7 separate regions of the Homo sapiens genome follow, and all the other regions are linked to region 1. Evidence: promoter capture Hi-C in 16 types of primary human blood cells and fetal thymus (Javierre and others, 2016). All regions are on one chromosome and are shown on one strand. The core of a region is centred on a gene start or on the middle of the fragment in contact, and the rest is flanking DNA. Distances in the headings are between cores, read along the strand shown. Region 1 holds the start of PDCD10 (programmed cell death 10). Region 2 holds the start of TNFSF10 (TNF superfamily member 10). Region 3 overlaps FNDC3B (fibronectin type III domain containing 3B). Region 4 has its middle 2.4 kb from the start of FNDC3B. Region 5 overlaps LOC102724479 (a long non-coding RNA gene). Region 6 overlaps EIF5A2 (eukaryotic translation initiation factor 5A2). Region 7 holds the start of RPL22L1 (ribosomal protein L22 like 1).

Evidence for each region. The method cuts DNA at HindIII sites, captures the fragments that hold promoters and counts their contacts. A CHiCAGO score of 5 or more calls a contact.
Region 2: a contact is called between the fragment with the promoter of TNFSF10 here and the fragment with the promoter of PDCD10 in region 1, in 2 of 17 cell types (naive CD8 T cells and non-activated CD4 T cells). The highest score is 8.0, in naive CD8 T cells.
Region 3: a fragment that was not itself captured here is called in contact with the fragment with the promoter of PDCD10 in region 1 in 1 of 17 cell types (total CD8 T cells); the score reaches 9.1 in total CD8 T cells.
Region 4: a contact is called between a fragment that was not itself captured here and the fragment with the promoter of PDCD10 in region 1, in 2 of 17 cell types (naive CD4 T cells and total CD4 T cells). The highest score is 5.8, in naive CD4 T cells.
Region 5: a contact is called between a fragment that was not itself captured here and the fragment with the promoter of PDCD10 in region 1, in 1 of 17 cell types (total CD4 T cells). The highest score is 5.1, in total CD4 T cells.
Region 6: a contact is called between a fragment that was not itself captured here and the fragment with the promoter of PDCD10 in region 1, in 7 of 17 cell types (total CD8 T cells, fetal thymus, total CD4 T cells and 4 more). The highest score is 16.3, in total CD8 T cells.
Region 7: the fragment with the promoter of RPL22L1 here is called in contact with the fragment with the promoter of PDCD10 in region 1 in 6 of 17 cell types (non-activated CD4 T cells, total CD4 T cells, total B cells and 3 more); the score reaches 8.9 in non-activated CD4 T cells.

The regions. Positions count from the first base shown.
Region 1 is chr3:167,733,574-167,736,227 of GRCh38, forward strand. PDCD10 (programmed cell death 10) reads right to left here and starts at 1,319. Exons shown (of 9, transcript NM_007217.4): 1 at 1,089-1,319; 2 at 641-777. SERPINI1 (serpin family I member 1) reads left to right here and starts at 2,148. Exons shown (of 9, transcript NM_001122752.2): 1 at 2,148-2,250. RefSeq lists a silencer at 951-1,080 and an enhancer at 1,131-1,570. The HindIII fragment of the contact is 6,113 bases long and covers 1-2,423 here.
Region 2 is chr3:172,522,064-172,524,717 of GRCh38, forward strand. TNFSF10 (TNF superfamily member 10) reads right to left here and starts at 1,367. Exons shown (of 5, transcript NM_003810.4): 1 at 1,190-1,367. The coding sequence starts at 1,321. It also overlaps the pseudogene TBPL1P1. RefSeq lists an enhancer at 1,299-1,348. The HindIII fragment of the contact is 8,260 bases long and covers 872-2,654 here.
Region 3 is chr3:172,104,153-172,106,806 of GRCh38, forward strand. All of the region lies in intron 1 of FNDC3B (fibronectin type III domain containing 3B), which reads left to right. Among named protein-coding and RNA genes, the nearest start is that of FNDC3B, 66 kb to the left of the region's middle. The HindIII fragment of the contact is 2,760 bases long and covers 25-2,654 here.
Region 4 is chr3:172,035,865-172,038,518 of GRCh38, forward strand. No RefSeq gene overlaps it. Among named protein-coding and RNA genes, the nearest start is that of FNDC3B, 2.4 kb to the right of the region's middle. RefSeq lists an enhancer at 411-470. The HindIII fragment of the contact is 521 bases long and covers 1,096-1,616 here.
Region 5 is chr3:171,461,087-171,463,740 of GRCh38, forward strand. The region is part of intron 1 of LOC102724479 (a long non-coding RNA gene); the gene reads left to right. Among named protein-coding and RNA genes, the nearest start is that of TNIK, 2.0 kb to the left of the region's middle. RefSeq lists an enhancer at 20-520. The HindIII fragment of the contact is 2,430 bases long and covers 93-2,522 here.
Region 6 is chr3:170,904,534-170,907,187 of GRCh38, forward strand. It overlaps EIF5A2 (eukaryotic translation initiation factor 5A2), which reads right to left. Exons shown (of 5, transcript NM_020390.6): 3 at 2,456-2,560. Among named protein-coding and RNA genes, the nearest start is that of EIF5A2, 2.8 kb to the right of the region's middle. The HindIII fragment of the contact is 744 bases long and covers 966-1,709 here.
Region 7 is chr3:170,868,871-170,871,524 of GRCh38, forward strand. It overlaps RPL22L1 (ribosomal protein L22 like 1), which reads right to left and starts at 1,325. Exons shown (of 4, transcript NM_001099645.2): 1 at 1,289-1,325. The coding sequence starts at 1,297. RefSeq lists enhancers at 818-867, 1,037-1,763, 1,764-2,489. The HindIII fragment of the contact is 15,380 bases long and covers 1-2,654 here.

The DNA.
Region 1 (2,654 bases), core at 69-2,568:
AAGTCTCAAAAAAGACGATGTTACCTCCAAGAAATGCAAAATACCTTCTTTTCTAGTAATGGGCACACTAAACTCTCCTAACGCTACATTATTTGAAAAAAGTGTAGTTTTGTGAAAGAATTCCAATCCCACTATTATCAGTTTTACAAAATGAGAGTAAAAACAGTCCTAAGGTAGAAAAAGAAAAGAATATTCTTCTAAGGATGGGATATATTGTTTAACTGTTGTTCTCCCATCCTATTACCTACCCGTAAAAATGAACTGTGAGAGTAGAGTCTATCATTTAATACACCCCTAAAAAAAGGGGAAAAATCTGTAAAAGTTGAAACTGGCCATTTTTATTTTTTCCAAAAGGATCTTTCCTTTATTGAGGAATTTCACTCCGGTTCAAGAAACAACTTTTTATCTCACAATGGCTTCTTAGATATACTATATAAAATACATTTACTTTGTAACTTCCTCCACCCTTTTCAAAAAGCACAACCAACGTCCCTACTCTAAAGCTGGACTCGAACCGAACTAGATTCAGAAAGTCTGTCCCTACGTGTGTGACCTTGGGCACGTCATATAATCCCTCGGTTTCCTCATCAGCATCCCAAAATGAAAGCGCTCTGAAAGCAGTAAAGGAGTAAAAACATACCTTAGGTATGACACCTAAGAGGGTCAAGTCTTTCTGTTTAAGGCAAAATTATCTCCTTAGAGGGCCACATCATTAAACTGGAACTGAATCCGTAGACCCCAACATTTGTCTCTTCCTTCTTCCAGTGCTCCTCTTCCCTCAAAGGGCATAACCCGAGTCACCCCCAAGAGCCGACTCCCAAGCACCCTTTCCTTCCTCCTCCCTTTTCTCTTACTTACAAAGCAGGGGGAAAACAGCAGCCTCACCTCTCGGTCCGAAGCCACACCTTCAAAGGACCCCACCCCAGGCACATCCGCCCTGTCCCCTCTCCCGGGGCACCAGGGGCCAACCTCGCCCTTCCCCTCCCGCCCCCACCTAGAGGAGACTTCCTGGAGGCGTTCGGGCCCAAGCCGGCAGGCGGCATTTACAAACCCGCTTTACGCCACTCGCGTAGGGTAACCTCGCTTACGCCCGTAGGGCCCCGCTCTCAGCCCCGTCCGCTCCGCCTGCCAGAACCAAGCCCAAGTGCCTCAGCCATGGCCCCTGCGTGACCCTAGACCTCTTCTGCTCGGTGCAGAGCTACGGGGACTGGGACAGAACAGCTACACCTTACCAGCAACTGAGGCACTGACTTCACTTCCCACCTTGCAGCCCTCTTCAACTCCCGGATCAATTCACTCCGGCGACGCCGGAAGGACCCAAGAGGAACCAGGCGTTGTCCGGAATCCTGCCCAGCCGGAGTCGTGCAGAGGCTTATGGGGACTCGTAGTCCCGCTCGCCGGCGTTGTCCGCAATTCCTGCAATCGGAAGACTACACTTCCCGGCAGGCCATGCGGGGGATCCTGAGGCGATGGGTGGTGACACTTCTAGCCAATAGTAGGAGAATTCCCTGCCTTTGCGGGAGGAGGTGAGATGAAGAGAGATGGTGCACGGAAAGGAGAGGAAGGGCGGGGCAAGCCCTCACCTGCGCCAATCAGGGTGCGGAGTAGGCCCCGCAGGCGCCTCACCCATTGAGGGGGCGGGCTGACAGAGCAGAGGAAGGAAGGGGGTGAGGGGCCTGTGGTGGGGATCCTGGGGCTGTCGGGCTGAGTATGCCGTGTGGGTGGAGAGGAAGCCTCGGGGAAATCGCCCAGGTGAAGGGAGGGCTTGGTGTGGGGACTTGCACTGGGCAGAGGGGCAGCTTCCCTGAGAGCAGCTAAGCCCCAGGCACACCGGGCATCCGGACACACAGGTCGGGGAAGGATAGGCTGAGCCGGGGCTCCCAGCAGAGACGCCTGGGTGGGGCAGGAGGCCGCTCCAGGTGTGAGCCACAGAGGAGGGGAGAGGGACCCCCACGGGAGTGGAAGTGGCAGAGCAGCTGCAGAAGTGCAGGGAGCGGAAAGGTACCAGGGCAGCTGCTTTCCGCTGCCTCCGGTCCGGGCAGCTGCAGAAACAGCAGGGGGAGGAGCAACAGCTGCCAAATTCGCCAACTAGAGGAGGGAGAGGCGGAGCTTGGGTCCCTGTAGAAGCCAGAGGCGCAGTCTGGACTGTAGTTTCCCGGGAGAGACGAAAGCAGGAACGAGAGCGGAGCGGAGCACAGTCCGCCGAGCACAAGCTCCAGCATCCCGTCAGGGGTTGCAGGTGTGTGGGAGGTAAGCGTGGGTCCTTCTTCGGGGCGTCTGCACTGCCCTGGAGAAAACGTCTTCCAATAGGAATTACATCAAGACACAGCTAAAAGAGTCCGCGTTGGGTTAGGAAACCGGTGCAAAACCTCTCGGGTGAAAGATTTACATTTTTCGACTTTAAGGGCAAAAAAGCAAAAGGAAGCTTGACTCTGGGTATAAAGGGCGTGGTTAGTGTTTTTGGTTTGAGTTGCACCAGTAAAACTGTTCTGGGAGATCTGAAGATTGAGAAAAATCCTGCTAATTGAGGACGAGGTGGATGTTATCTGGTGGATGTTATAGGTGCGTAGCCTATAAAAAGCAAAAATTTTGCTATTGATATAGAATAACTTCTGAACTATTTCACTAGGAAAATAACTTTGCATTCTTCTTCA
Region 2 (2,654 bases), core at 117-2,616, 4.8 Mb after region 1:
GAGAGCATTAGAACAAATCCTAATGCCTGTGGGGCTTACAACCTAGATGATGGGTTGATGGGTGCAGCAAACCACCATGGCACATGTATACCTATGTAACAAACCTGCACGTTCTGTACACGTATCCCAGAACTTAAAGTAAAATAAAAAAATTTAAAAATAAAGAAATCTGTTTGCCAGAATTCACAAAGAGCAATAGACCTCATGTGAGTTATGAATCTGAACTTCATCCTGCTGTGTGCTATTGGATAAAGACTCTAAGAGCTACATTACAGATTTTTTCGACAGGAAGTATCACAGTAACAAGGCCCTATTTAAAGGCTGTTGCTACTGCTGTGGAACAGATTTACCCATTTGTGTTTGAAAGCAGGAAAGAAATTTTATCATTCACCACTTAATTGGTTAGAATCTCTTACTGTGCACCTTTTAAAACCTGCTGCACATTGGACTCAAAAGGAAAACTGAACCAACGGTAATTGAGGAAATAGACTCTTTTATTTATTCATGGCTACAGTGTAAGCTCCAGTCCCTTTGGATTTTATTCCAAACCTTGTTATAATATAAAAAAGGAAGTTTACAAGACATGTCATTGCTGCTTTTACAAAAGGACATTCTATTTATTTTCGCAGGAATTCTCATGTCCCCATAAGCAGAGCTGTCACAGTGTGCACTACCTTAGGTTGTTTTATTGTTGTCATTGTTATTTTTTTCCATTTTGAGCTAATGTGTTTTATCTGTGAATAGTCTTTTACATTTTTGTATGCTGAAAATGGGCACCAAAGAACCTGTAAAAATTATCTTTTTCAATTGAATGTGCACAAATAAAAGTTTGGAAAAGGAAAACAAAAGAACTACAAAGCATTTAGCAGAAAGCTTTCATGAAGAGTTGCAATGGCTGATATTATAAAATACACATACTTTTAAAAACAAAAAATCCCTCAGGAGTTTTGTTGCCCACATCTGCTAGTAACTAGTGAAGCCAGTTGTGTAACTGCACTTAGTTTACACAATTTCTTGAACTTACAGTTTTGCAAAGACCTCAGTTGTTATGTGATTTAGCAGTTAGAGTGTACCCACAGAGAAAGGAAGCAGGAAAGTCTTCAGAGAGGGGCAAGCTGACATGCAAAGAAGCAGGTAACCAGACATTTGCTAAGCGCCTCGAAGACTGAGTGCACTGCACTGCACTGACCTGCTTCAGCTCGTTGGTAAAGTACACGTAAGTTACAGCCACACAGAGAGACTGCAGGAGCACTGTGAAGATCACGATCAGCACGCAGGTCTGTCCCAGGCTGGGTCCCCCCTGGACCTCCATCATAGCCATGATCCTGTCAGAGTCTGACTGCTGTAAGTCAGCCAGGCAGCCGGTCACTGAAGCCCTTCCTTCTCTATTCTTTTATAGTCAGTGAGGAAATGAAAGCGAATGAGTTGTTTTTCTGGGTTCTGTGGCCTTGGCCCCACCCACATCTATTGAACCTGCAACTGTCCCTCCCCTTTCCTACTGCCCAGGGACAGCTCTTGTCTCAAAGTAGTCGTTGGAAAGGAGGGAAACTGAAAGAAGCTCCTCTCCTTGCCCTCAGGATCCATGCACCCCTTATCTGCACTCACCTCAAGCCCATTTCTCTCTTCTCTTTCTTGCTCTCCTTTTGATAATGTCCTCAGCCAAAGAGGGGAGGGATTTTCTTTGCTTTTCCCTAACATATCCTCATTCTACCACAGAGCTCTAAGCCTCATGGCCTGGCTGTCATAGGCACAAGGCCTGTTTTCTAAATTATAAGATAATTTTTATGACCTGAAACTTCCATATGTGGTTTTTCTCATGCTACTGTGAGGGTGGGAAGAGGGCAGGGTGGGAGTGGATAAAGGAAAATAGAAATACTGTCTCATAGCAATGGTCTTGCTACATAATTCCATCTTGAATGTCAGAATCTAAATATTGACGACTTCTTCCTCTTTGCAAACCTTCAGACACAAATTCTAATCTCCTTCTCAGATCTCCATCCCTACCAAGACAACATGCCTGTGTGTTAGGCTGGACAGGTAGGAAGTAGTTGACACACTCAGAAAGGCAAAGGAAAAAAACATGTGGATGTTTTCCAAAATATTAACCCCATCACAATGTCTCGCTGTCACTATCCTTTTACAGATTAGGAAAAGAAGTTACAGGGAGTTAATTACCCTCAGATTCAGGACCCAGCCCCAAATCTCCCCACTATCAGATGTCATAAGCTGGCCCAGCTGTATGTTGTCTCTATATCTTATTCAGCATTTCTTTCTTTCCTTTTCTTCCTTTCTTTCTTTCTTTCTTTTCTTTTCTATTCTTTCCTTCTTTCCTTCTTTCTTTCTTTCTTTCTTTCTTTCTTTCTTTCTTTCTTTCTTTCTTTCTTTCTCTCTTTCATGTATTTATTTATTTTTTTGACAGAATCTCACTTTATCGCCCAGGCTGGAGTGCAGTGGTGCAATGGCACAATCTCGGCCCACTACAACCTCCACCTCCCAGATTCAAGCAATTCTCCTGCCTCAGCCTCCCAAGTAGCTGGGATTACAGGTGCATGCCACCATGCCCAGCTAATTTTTTTGTATTTTTAGTAGAGATGGGGTTTTACCATGTAGGCCAGGCTGGTCTCGAACTCCTGACCTCAAGTGATCCTCTTGCT
Region 3 (2,654 bases), core at 155-2,654, 4.4 Mb after region 1:
AGTTTTTTTATGTGTCTTTTTTTAAGCTTTAGTTTAATCAATATTAGGTATGCAGGGTAAGCAATTGGTATTGAAGGGAGGAAACATACTCCCTTAAGATCAGAAAGGAACCTTAAGGGCTAATCTATAATATTGTCATTTTATAAGAGGAAATTAATTACTGAAGTTCAGAGCTAATTATTTTATTGACAAATCCCAGATTAGAACTCATGTTTTCCAATACTCAGTGCTGGAGCCTGTCCACTATAGTTTTTTTTTTTTTTTCCAAAGTTTTTTTTAGCATAGGGGATGTGAAAAATTCTAATAACAGTTCTTAGTCCCTCTCCATATCCTTTTTTTGTGCTACTTAATTTGATTTTTTAAAAAGCAAAGGGGAATGTTTGCCTGAAGTGTACAGGAGCGATTAGCTCAAGGAAAAGCACTAAAACAACCTCTAGGTTTCTCCTGTCCAATGGCAGTGTCCCACATCAGGTTCATAATGGCGACATGCTAATTCCACATGGGCAGAGCCAATGCCAAGGCATTGGTGTAGTGTTACTGGGAAGAGAAAGAAAAGCCATATTCTCACAGTAGCAGGGAAGTGGTCAAAACAGTCAGGTGTGTGTTGATGGATGAGCAGATTTTCCCAGAATTTCAGAGGTAAAGAAGATCACATTGTGTTTCTATTTTGTTTTAATGAAATTTTTTTCCTTTTGTTGATGCTGTTGGTGTTTCCATGGTTATTATCAAAAGCAGTTTCTGGTTTTGCTGAAAGGCTAGAAATGACAACTATTTTCAGAGTTTCTAGGTCTTGAAACATCAGTCAACCTTTCAAAGCCAGCATTGATCAAGAAGGAAAGAGGTTTTTCTAATGAGGAAAATAAAATAGTAAATGATACTTTGACATTCCATTAGTTGTAGGAATGTGTGCCCCAACTGACTACCTTGCTTTGCTCTCTCTCTTTCCCTCTCTTTTCTAAGTTTTGCTAATAATAAAACTTAGGAAGTACACATTTAGGAAACTGTCTGTCCTTGTGACTGATGGCATTTATACATAAAGGCCACCCGGGGTGTATGGGGGGAGGTTCATGAATGCAGTTTTTCTTTTCTTTTTTCTGTGTATATGATTCCGTATCAAATTTTAACTTCTAGATGTTTATTTTTTTAACTGCAGTCAAGGCACAAACCAGTGTAAATCAGCTGCACAAATGTTTGTCATAATAAATTTTTATTAGGTTTTATATTGGAAGCCATTTAGAAACTAGTCTTATAATCACTCATAAAACATTAGCTATCTTATTGTTTTACAAGAGTATGTAGAGTATAGTAATTTCTTAGTAACATCCCAAATCCGTCTTTCTCCAAACACAATACAGCAAAGCTGTGTTTTCTGTGATTCAGTAAGTCAGATTGCATTTTGAGTATTCATGTAGTTTTCCCCACCCCCCTGAATCAGGAATTTTCTTCCCCCATTATTATTGTTTTCTTAAAAAAAAAAAAAAAAAAAGATGGGGTTTCGCCATGTTGCCCACACGGGCCTCGAACTTCGGAGCTCAAGCAGTCTGTCTGCCTTGGCCTCCCAAAGTGCTGGGATTACAGGCATTTTATTACTGTTATACAAATGGCCAGGATGTTTCTCTGCTGTATTTTCTGAAACTTGACCCACTATAGATTCTCACTATTAGAGGTCAGTGGGTATTTTTAGTAGAGAAGGAAATTTTCATGAAGTACGAATTGAGCTGATTTTACTGTGTCTGTGACAATATATTTTTCAGGCTACAGAACAAGCATGTAGCAAGCAAAATGTTTACATGTTGTTATGTTTAAAGTGTGTGAAGGTGATTGGTTAATCTGTGTTGGAAAAGACTAGCTTTATGGAGTACTTGGAATCACAGTTAACTATAGTGGTATGAATTCTGATATTATTTTCAAGTTGCTTTATGGGTGCTTGTATTTGATGGGTTTTGAATTGGAGTATGGAAGTGAAAAGTTAAAACTGAACACATACATTCTACTTACTTGTTATGTTACTCCATCAACCTTTTTTTTAAAGAGACAGGGTCTTGCTATGTTGCCCAGGCTGGACTCAAACTCCCTGGGCTGAAGCCATCATCTTGCCTCAGCCTTCTGAGTAGCTGGGACTACAGGTGTGCACCACCATGCCCAGTTTTCCACTGACCTTTTTAAACACTGCTCCAGGATAGTCAAAGTTAGTGGGAGGTCTCATTAGGGTGCTGGTGAAGTGGGCCTGGGAGCCTCAGCCTGGCTTGTAATTAAACTCAGGGAATCAATTCCTCTCATCCAGGCTGGCCCGGTGGGTTTGGTTCTGATGGGTATACTTTGTTCCTTTTGGTACTGTTATGTTTCTTTTTCTCTTGTCATTTGAAATTAATTTGCGTACTGTACTGCTAACTCACATCTTGAATTAATGTAAGGAAATTTGGGTCATTGGCCCTCAGAGTGAGGACCAGGACATTTTGTTGTTAATTTGAAGGCCAGTTTCACAGACTTAAAAACTCTCCCAGCAGTGATTAGGGCTTTGGCTTTAAGTTAGACATTCTTCCTAGTATATAATTGCTTTGGCCCTTTGCAGGTGGGGGCTGCAGTTCTCTTCTGCGAATCGTTGTTTTTCATGAATTTGGCCTGTGTCTTTCTTAGTATAGGCTGGGACCAAA
Region 4 (2,654 bases), core at 106-2,605, 4.3 Mb after region 1:
TTGAGATGGAAGTTTGCTCTTGTTGCCCAGGCTGGAGTGCAATGGTGCCATCTCAGCTCACTGCAACCTCTGCCTCCTGGGCTCAAATGATTCTCCTGCCTCAGCCTCCCAAATAGCTGGGATTACAGGTGTCTGCCATCATACCAGGCTAATTTTTGTATTTTTTTTTTTTTTTAAGTAGAGATTGTGTTTCACCATGCTGGCCAGGCTAATCTCGAACTCCTGACCTCAGGTGATCCGCCTGCCTCAGCCTCCCAAAGTGCTGAGATTACAGGCATGAGCCACCATGCCTGGTGGTCAAGAGCAGTTTTTAAGAGTAGGGGCAGAACTGAGCCTGCCTTGGGAACCTAGCAACTCGAGCTATAGGGAGAAGAAGGACATTGAAACTGAGAATGCAGCTGGGTCTTGTAGATATTACGTGTTACTAGTCATAGTGATCTTTGAGAGAGAGTTTCAAATTTAAACATTTTAGACTACAGAAGTGTTCAGAAAAGTTGAATTGTTTGAGACCTTTTCAATGCTAGCTTCAATACTTTCATTCTTTCCTGTGTACTACTGTTGCATTTTTTGATATAAATTATTTGAGATGAAGAAGTATGACTAAGAATCTTTTTAAAATTTGGACTCAGCCTACATTGCATAGGTGGTAGAAGGGTTTAAGAGTCTCTATATTTTGTTATAGGCCTTAACTTCTAGGCATCTTCATTTGGATGTTAACTTTTGTATTTGAGCAAATCTTAAGGTGCTTTTGGAGCAAAGTTTTAGCCAGGACTATAGTTTCATAATTTGGGACCTAGAGCAGCAGATTATGCAGGTTGTCAACACCAGATAGTCATACTCATTGCCTTAGGTTGAGGTCCTTCTTCCTATTCCCAGAACCATGACTCTGGTGTAAGTCTTATCATTTCCAAAGTAGGTTCAGGGCATGCATCTCTGACATGAGCCTTGTTCTATATCCTGCTGCTAAGATAACCTTGAAACCTATTTTAATTACTTCATGCCTCAATAATCCCACAGTGTTCTCACTGTATTAAATCTAAATCCCTCAAAGTATAGGTGAGAGCCCTCTATCACAAATTCCACCTTTTTCTCTGAAGCTTCCAATTCTGTCCTATTAATCCTTTTAAGAAATATATCTTTATTAATTCATTTACTCATTCATTCATTCATTCATTCATTCAAGGAGTAACCAATATTTATTTACTGAGTACCAGGTGCTTGAGTTTTTTAATCCTCACAACAACCTTGACCAGAAGGTTTATTAAAGATCACAATTTAACAAATAAGAAAATTCAGGTTCAGAGAACTTTATGCCCAACATCACTCCTTTTCTCTCATTATGTTCTATGCTCTCTCCAGTGTACCATACTTCCTCTCATTTTGCAAACATTTAATGGGCTTTTTTTCTGTGCCAAAACTGGTGTTAGGTGTTAGGGCAAAGAAGATGAATGAAACACTGAGATCATATATATGAACATGCATGTGAAATTATAAAGCATTATATGAAAATTGAAACTTTTTCTTCTTAATAAGAAAAAATTCAGTCTAGTGGAAGAAACAGGAATAAATAACTTTGTCCTCCAAACTTCCCTTGCCTACTTTTACCTCCTTTGCCAAGCTTGTCCTTCAACCTGAATTTGACCTTTCACATTCTGAAGTTTGCTCACTTACCTAGTCATTCAGATTCTTCCACATACTTTACAATTAATTCATTCACCAAACACAAAGGGGTCTTATATTCAAAGCAGAATTCTAGGTTGATACTAGGGATACAAACATGAACAAAACTCAGTCAAGTGGAAGAGATAAAGTATAACTAACTTCAGGCTGGGCACAGTGGCTCATGCCTATAACCCCAGCACTTTGGGAGCTGGGGCAGGAGGATTGCTTGAGCTCAGGAGTCTGAGACCAGCCTGGGCAACAAAAATGAAAAAAAAAAAAGAAACATTAAAAAAAAATTAGCCAGGCGTGATGGCACACACTAGTAGTCCCAGCTACTTGGGAGGCTGAGGTGGGAGACTCGCTTGAGCCTAGGAGCTTGAAGACGCAGTGAGCTACGATCATGCTACTGCACTCTAGCCTCAGAAAAAAAAAAAAAAAAAAAAGACTAACTTCAGAGCAATGTGAGAACTGACAAGGATTATAAGATTGTGGGGAAAAGAGGTATGAGACTGTAGGGAGGAAAGGAGGGAGTGGTTTTAGCCGGAGATCAAGGATGAGTAAATGATCTTAAATAGGGAAGAAGAAGTATGTTTCAGAGGGAAGGCACGTACAAAGGGACACAGGTACCTTCTGGAGCCATGAGTGATCAGCTGGGCTGAAGGCATGGCACCTGAGGAAGCCAAAGAGTCTGGAGCCAGAGAAGGCATTTGGACTCAAATGGGATCTATTGGATTGTACCCTATTGGCACTAAGGAACTACTGCCTACCCCCCGCCCCGGCTTCTCATGCAGGACTATGACCTAGAATTGGAGTTATGTTATAGAAAGATGGCTTCAAGTTCCCCTTTGAGGAGCTCCACAGTAAATAAGCCATTTAGGAGAGAGGTCCCCATTTCTCTGGACTCACCATTGCCTCCAAAAAAAAAAAAAAAAGGCTAAAATCTCCCCAAAAGAATGGCAAATGAACAAGGGAAGGAAGGAGCTATTTCTTAG
Region 5 (2,654 bases), core at 58-2,557, 3.7 Mb after region 1:
AGATGGGAGATCTGAGCGCTCTCTTGGCATCGCCACACCCAGGACTTGCTCGTGCCGCAATTCCCCACGGAAACAACCGAGTTGAAACGAGAAGCTTGCTCTCTGGGTGCAGTAGCTAGAAGGCTTCAGGTAACTCCAAAGCCAACACTGGGTGAGGCAACACACGCCGCCTCAGGACTCAGCATTTCTTTCAGGCTGCGTTTTCGTGGCAGACCTACCCAGATTGATGGAGAAAGTTTGGCTGGCGGATAAGAAGTAACGCGGAAGATGTGTACGTGAGAGCGATTTCACTTCACTCACTTTCTCATTTAAAGGTTGGATGTTTTACAGTGGTATACATGATTCTCCTTCTGTAATCAAGAGTGGGAAGTCGCTTCCCCCAATCCCCGCGCAGCCCTTCTTCTCCCGCCTTAGCCATGCAAAATACCTAGAAAGAAAACACTAAAACTGAACTTTTTTCCAAATACAGCAGTAGCTTTGAAAGCATTCTTTGCTCCTCTGTTAACAGCAGAATGTAATTCTGACCACTGCACTGATGGTTTCTTAATCATGCAGTATGAAGATCAGCTTCAAAATAAGTCTTATGAATGAATGAATGAAAGCCAGTGCAGTTAGTTCATCATGACTGCAGACATTAGAGGACTTTGAAACAACCTTTGGTGTACATTGTACTGTTTTTGTTACTGATATTGTATGTATTCATATGCATTGTGGATCATGCACCATGAAACTTGAAAATTGTTCCAACATCTCAATGGCCACAACAGTTTGGTAGCTTTTGCCTGTAAACGTTGTATGTAAACATTTGAACGTGTTATACTAAATTACTAAACTCATTTTTTACTAAAATCATCTGGTTCGACATAGTAAGTAACGTGCAGTAAGCCACCACGTCGAAATGAAAAAAAAAAAACAGATTATTTCCCATCATTGTCTTTGTTTTTTTCTCTTCTGTGTTCCTGTTTTTTTACCGTTCATCTAGACAACAGGTTAATGTATTGTCTCAGGGTTGAAAGAAGATAATTTAAGATCAAGTATTAAGATCTATAAACAACTATTTTTTTAAAACTGCAAACATAAGGAAATATGAGTTAAATATTTTTTCCATGGAAAGCCTTCGTTTTATACTCATGATTATATTTGAAACATCACAAACAGATCAACTTTTTTGACATTAGTGAGCTGTTTGGGCCACGAGGGTGCCAAGTTGGCATTCAGATTTAGTTTAGTTTTAGATGAGAAAGTTATAGATGCAGTATGATGCCAGGTGCTAAATGGAGGAGGGCTTCCTAAGAGCCTGAGAAGTTGATGAGACAGCCAGGGGAAGGCAGGGGTGTGGGCTGCAGGAAATACCATAAAAGGAGAGATTGCAGTATCAAAGGGACCTCCAACTGGTAAAGGAAGGTGAGAAGGAGGAACTTGAACTTTTTCCTTTTGGTCAAGTGTGTATCAAATTTCAGCTATTCCAGTATAAATTTCCTAATTTTTTCCTATGTCTCTGTATTGCCTGTACTATTTTACCACTTACTTAACATTTTTCTTTAAATCAACACTTTTTTCTTACACTTAATATAAAAGAAAACATAAATCACTACTCTAAATGGAAAGCCAACAACACTTGCTTTGAAAAAAAAAGGGGGGAGGAAACCATTAAAATAAATATAATGGAAAATAAAGAAGTATTATTAAATTCTAGCTAGCCATCAATTCCTGCTCTGGGCTTCTAGCCTAAGGCCTACTCTTAGTTTGTTAAAAGAGAGAATAGCAAATACCAGGAAAAACATTCAAGACTTGAGATTTTTTTCTTGATGTAATCTGAAGGATTAAGAGAACTGACACCATTTATGTGCAGTTTGAAAACCTGCCGAATAATACACTATGCTGTTTACATATGTATAAATATGTAGTAAACTATATAAAGCATGGATACAGGCAGTAAGGATACAGATTAACTTCAGGATAATGAGAAAAGAGGAAGAGGAAAAGGAGACTCCAACAATGATACCTAATTTTTTTGCTAAAGATTTCTGCCAGGCACGGTGGTGGCTCACACCTGTGATGCCAACATTTTGGGAGGACAGGTTGGGAGGATAGTTTGAGTCCAGGAGTTCGAGACCCGCCTGGGCAACTTGGTAGAACCCCATCTCTACAAAAAATACAAAAATTAGGTGGGCATAGTGGTACACCCCTGCAATCCCAGCTACTAGGGTGGCTGAGGTGGAAGAATTGCTTGAGTCCGGGAGGTTGAGGCTGCAGCAAGCCAAGATAAGCCACTGCACTCCAGCCTGGGCGACAGAGGGAGACCCTCTTTATAAAAATGAATAGAAAATTTGAATAATAAGTAATACTATGCTGCAGATATTTTTCTAAGCATTTGTTCTATCTGAATGTTTGTGTCTCCCAAAATTTATGTGTTGAAACCTAACCCCCATAGTGATAGTATTAAGAGGTGGAACCTTTAAGAGGTGATTAGATCATGAGGGCAGATCCTTCATGAACTGGATTAGTGCCCTGAGAAAAGAAGCTTGAGGGAGCCTGTTCGCCCTTCCACCACATGAAGATGCATAGAAGGGGCCATCTGTGAGAAAGGAGCCCTCAGCAGACTTCAAATCCGCTGATATCTTGATCTTGGACTTTCCGGCCGCAGAACTGTG
Region 6 (2,654 bases), core at 88-2,587, 3.2 Mb after region 1:
CCCAGGCTAGAGTGCAGTGGAGTGATCACAGCTTAGTGCAGCCTTGACCTCCCAAGGCTCAAGTGATCCTCCCACCTCAGCCTCTGGGTCTGCTGGGACTACAGCTGTGTACACCACCATGCCTCGCTAATTTTTTTTTTTCTGTATTTTGTAAAGATGGCGTCTCACCACATTGCCCAGGTTGGAGAACTAGTTTTTTAAACAATTAACAGAAATAAGTTATTTTTCTATGCTGACTTGAAAATGAAGAGCAGAGAAATACTGAATACTTTCTATGCCAGGCGTTGTTGTATTAACTAATTAAACCTCAAAATGATCCCATGAGGCGTTATTATTTATGTCTCTGCTTTATAAAGAAAGAAATGGAAGCAAAACAGGTTAAGTAACTTGTCAACCAAGGTCACACAGCTATTAAGTGCCAAAGTAAGACTAGGACCAGGCCTGCCTGGCTTAAATCATCCTCTTATCCACTTTGCAGTGCGGAGTACATACCAAGGGTTGGGACAAGGGTGAAGTAAGACACTTGTCTTGGGTGCAAAATTAAAGAAGGCACCAAAAAAACCTCAGTGATCAGATAGGCATTTTAATGCAATATTTTAAAAAATTAGAATTAATGCAAAAATCCTATGATAAAATACCAAAATTCTAAATAAAGATGGGATCAGAATTAATTTTCTTTGCGCCTTGAGCTCCTATATGGCTTGTCATTGTTACTAGTTCTGTCTTTATTTAAAATTTTGTGCCTGAGGCAAGAGCCTCCCTCACTTCATTTGCCTCATCCTAGTCTAGGACCCAAACCAAATTTTTCCTTTAAGTCTTGAGCTCCAATCAATGACTGGCTAACCTTATCATAGTATAATAGTAATTATCTGAACTGCTGATACCATCTTTCTGAAACATGCAACAGGCAAAAGCATTCTATATTGAATGAATATTACTGAATATAATTAATATTGAATAGTCAAAGCTTTCATACTTTAAGACGAAAAGAGAAACCCAATTTTGACAACATTCTACGCTCAACTTTAGCCTGCTGTACTATCTCTACCACATTCAGTAATCACATATACATTTAACAAATATTTTTCGAGCACCTACTATGTACCACATCAAAGTTGGTGCTCCAACAATAATGAAATGATTAAGTAGAATTTTTACATAGGAAAAGGGGGAAACAGAACAGCACTTTTTGGTACGTATCTACTTATGGAGTTCTTAATGGGGTACATTTTCTCATTTAATCCTCCTATTATCACTATTTTGTAGATGAGAAAACAGGCTCAGAAAGGTGTATAACTTGTCCAAAATCATCCAACTAGAAAGTGACAGAACTAGATCCAAACCCAGATCTACCTGGTTAAAAAAACCCACTTGCAAGACAATTCAAATTTCTACAAAGACTTCAAAGCAACCTAGAAAACATTTATGACAAGTAGGAAAGTGAAAATATAAAAGTGTTTACTAGATTAAAACCACAAAAAAGTATGTTTGCATGTGGACAAACAGCAAAAGGAAATCATTGCGTAAGTGCAGTTGATAGCAACATTAAAAGAAATTTATACAATACAACAAAGGGTACAGAAAAAAATCAGTTTAAGTCGGATAAAACAAATACCAGTGTCAACTTTGTATTTTTCACTATGTAAAATGAGCAGAAATGAGTTTGATATATGGTATGCTTGATACAGAAATTGAAGACTTTCAAGAAAAGCTTTAGTTATAAGTAATCTGAGCTTCCACATCCTATAAGGTCAATTATTTTGTTATCATCAATACTTCAAACAACAAAATGCTATCATTAAATATGACCTACCCAAATGTATAACTGGAACTAAAACTTGAAATTTACATACATAATTTAGCAAAAGGTCATAGCATGGTCACTAAGTATAATTTAACCAATTATATAGTTTTTGTGTTTTCTTCACCATACTCAGTGACCAGGTACTTTATCCTTTATATTTATGGCTTTCAACTTATTTCTCTACTTAAGAATGTCAAGTTCTGACTAACATTCATTAATGCAAAAACTTGGTAGGAACATGAATTTCAGTAGTTTCTTGAATGTCTCAGGTCTGATCAGTGAAAAGAAACAAAACATCCAGGAGGGATGTTTTAAATTAGAACAAGAAATATTTTACAACAGAGAGAATAGTACTTTTACTAAACATTGGACTTAATTGCAATATGCAGTCACTTGGCCTGAGAACACTAATAAGTATTTGACTTTTTAAAAAATGCAAGAATGTGAAAAAAATAGCAAACTAGCAATAATCCTAGAAAAGTACATGTGTTAAACATCACTATTTCTCCAATTTCTAAGATAGCTGGTGCCTAATAATTGGTTAGAAAAACCTACAAAACTACTCTTGGGTTTTGTCAAATTATTACTGATAGTACAAAGTATTTGCACCTTGAAGAAACAAGCAACATTCTAAAGAAAATCAGTGCTTACTTGATAATCATTTCTCTTAATATTTGGAACATCCATGTTGTGAGTAGAAGGACAAATATCTTCATATTTTTTGCCCGTGAAAATATCAATTCCAACAAGGTGAACCTAACAGAGGAGAACAGGAAACCTGTTTAATCTCTGCCAAGTATATCACTCATTACACACACAAGAGCACAATACCAATGCTGATTACAACAGA
Region 7 (2,654 bases), core at 75-2,574, 3.1 Mb after region 1:
AGCACTTTGGGAGGCTGAGGCAGGAGGATCACGTGAGGTCAGGAGTTCAAGGCCAGCCTGGCCAACATGGTGAAACCCCATCTCTAGTAAAAATACAAAAATTAGCCAGGTGTGGTGGTGCATGCTTATAATCCTAGCTATTCAGGAGGCTGAGTCGGGAGGATTGCTTGAACCCGGGAGGCGGAGGTTGTAGTGAGCCTGATCATGCCACTATACTCCCACCTGGGCAACAGACTCTGTCTCAAAAAAAAAAAAAAACCTAAAAACCAACACCGTGGAACTTAAATTTTCCATATCCAAACCTTTTATACCAAGACCATATAATATGGCTACATAAGCAAAATGTTACTGTGGCCAGCAACCATGTACATTCACTGCAATATGAACAAACAAATCTGTATTTATCAGACTATAACCTCCAATTTAGATTCACCCAAGTGGCTACCAAGTATTACACATTAGTTTGCTTTCTCAGGTAGCATGGTAACATGTGCCAAAAGATAATTACCCAGTTGGCGCAGAAGTTAATTTGGGAGACACAAACAACTTCTGTCTAATGGAACAGATAACCCTATAGGGTTTATGGCCATGCTGGGCATTACCCAGTTTTGTAGCTAGCCCAGCAATTTTATCCTAACTTTATTTGTAAATTGCGCATGTATATCTAGCTTTTCAGATATTCTTAGGAACATTTTAACATCTTACTGGTTCCCTTACTAATGACTTAAGTAAAACATCTGAAGCACGTTTATTTCACATTGCTGGAATCTAGACTTATACTTTTCTAAAAATTACTTCACCGAGAAACTTCTTCCCCAACTGAAAGTTCTCAAAAACTTGTGATGTCGGCCATCGCGGGAGCTGAGCGCCTAGGAGCTCCCTCTGGCCTGGCAAAGGTCGTCAGACCGGCCCGATTACCCACCATTCCCCTACCCAGTGCTGAGTGGCAAAAGCATTATCAGGCGCGAGATAGTAAAGAAATGGCTCAGATTGCAGTACCACCGGCCCATTTACAGTTGTGCCTCCCTCTTTCCCGCGTGTCCAAAACCACCCATCCTAAACCAATTCCGGGCCCAGCTCCAACTCCACTAGACCTCATGGCAGCTGCCAGGGAGTCTCGAAAAACAGTTCAGGATCCTCGCGTCTTGGTTGTGTTTCTGACCCAGACTTCACTACTCCCCTCCCTTTATCTTGACTGAGACGTCTCCACTCGACAGATGCAAAAATCGTTACAGCGGAAATCATTAAATTGCCACACAACACTCCCACCAAGACATCGCTCACTCACCGGCGCCATCTTGCGAGTCGGCCGCGAGAGCAGAGAGGAAGCTACGGCCGCGCGGTCTGCATTTATATCAAAGCGTGCTGCGTCACGCGCTGAGAGCGTCAGATTGTCGCCTCCCGGAAAAGAAAGCGGGAGGAGCGCTGAGGCCGGTAACCCAGGAAACCAGTGCGCTGCCGGACGAGAGTAGGCCATCGGCTTTCCGCGGGCACACGCGGGTGGCTGTGGTTGAACTGACTCTCGGGTTTCCGCTCCTGGCTGTTCAAGCCGATTAATTGCAGTGGCCTCTACAGTTACCTAGTGGCTGCTCCCGGATACGGACGCACGCGAGGGATGCAGGAGTCATCTTTCACTAATCACCGGAATCCCCTTTCCAATCAGGGCAAGGCAGTGTCTCAGGTTGCTTTGGGATCTCCTTTTATTGCAGTTATAATCCTCCAGCGAAAAAGTTATTTGTTTGTGTTTTGTCTGTGAGCCTCGTTTTCTAAATGACTGTTGAGGGAAATTGGTGCTTCGGGGACCAGGTCCTCGGGAAAAAAAAATCATGTATATATATGCTTACACGCCCACGCCTGTAATCCCAGCACTTTGGGAGGCCGAGGCCGGAGAATCTCTTGAGCCCAGGAGTTCGAGACCACCCTTGGCAGCGTAGGCATAGGGAGAACCCGTCTCTACAAACAATTTTAAAAAAAATGGCCCGCGTGGTGGTGCGCGTCTGTACTCCCAGCCACTCGGGAGGCTGAGGCAGGAGCATCGCTTTACCTTGAGAGGCGGAAGTTGCAGTGAGTCGAGATCGAGCCACTGCACTCCAGCCTGGGTAACAGTGAGACTGTCTCAAAGGGAAAAACACGTAGTGCTTGCTTCTTGTTCATTCGTTTGGTATAATTTATCATGGGTTTTACAGTTAATCCCAGGTCTCTTGATTTCCATCCAAAATGCTCCCAGTTAAAATTCAATGAATGTTTGCTGTGACCTATCAGTATGTACAAGACACACGAGGGTGGAAGTGTCTTGCTGACAAAAGGAAAAAGTAGCTTTTGAGCTTTGAAGGATTGTAAATTGACATCAGATCCGAAAAGTGGCATGCTGAACCGCTTGGGTTTAGCAGTAATATGTTTTCGTGGAGATGAAATTATCATACCTAGGGGTAGGGGTAAGGGATGGGGTGGACTTTGTTGTTAATTTGAAGAATGACCCCAGAAAGTAAGAACTGTTCGTGGCCTTTATGCCAGCAAGTAGTTATCGTGGAAACTATGCTTTAATAGAGCATATGACTTGTAGAGTCTGAAGAGAGGCCCTGAATTCCTAGAAGAAATCCATTTCAACAAGATTTTTTAGTTGTCTGCCTTAAGAGCTACAATAATCACATTTC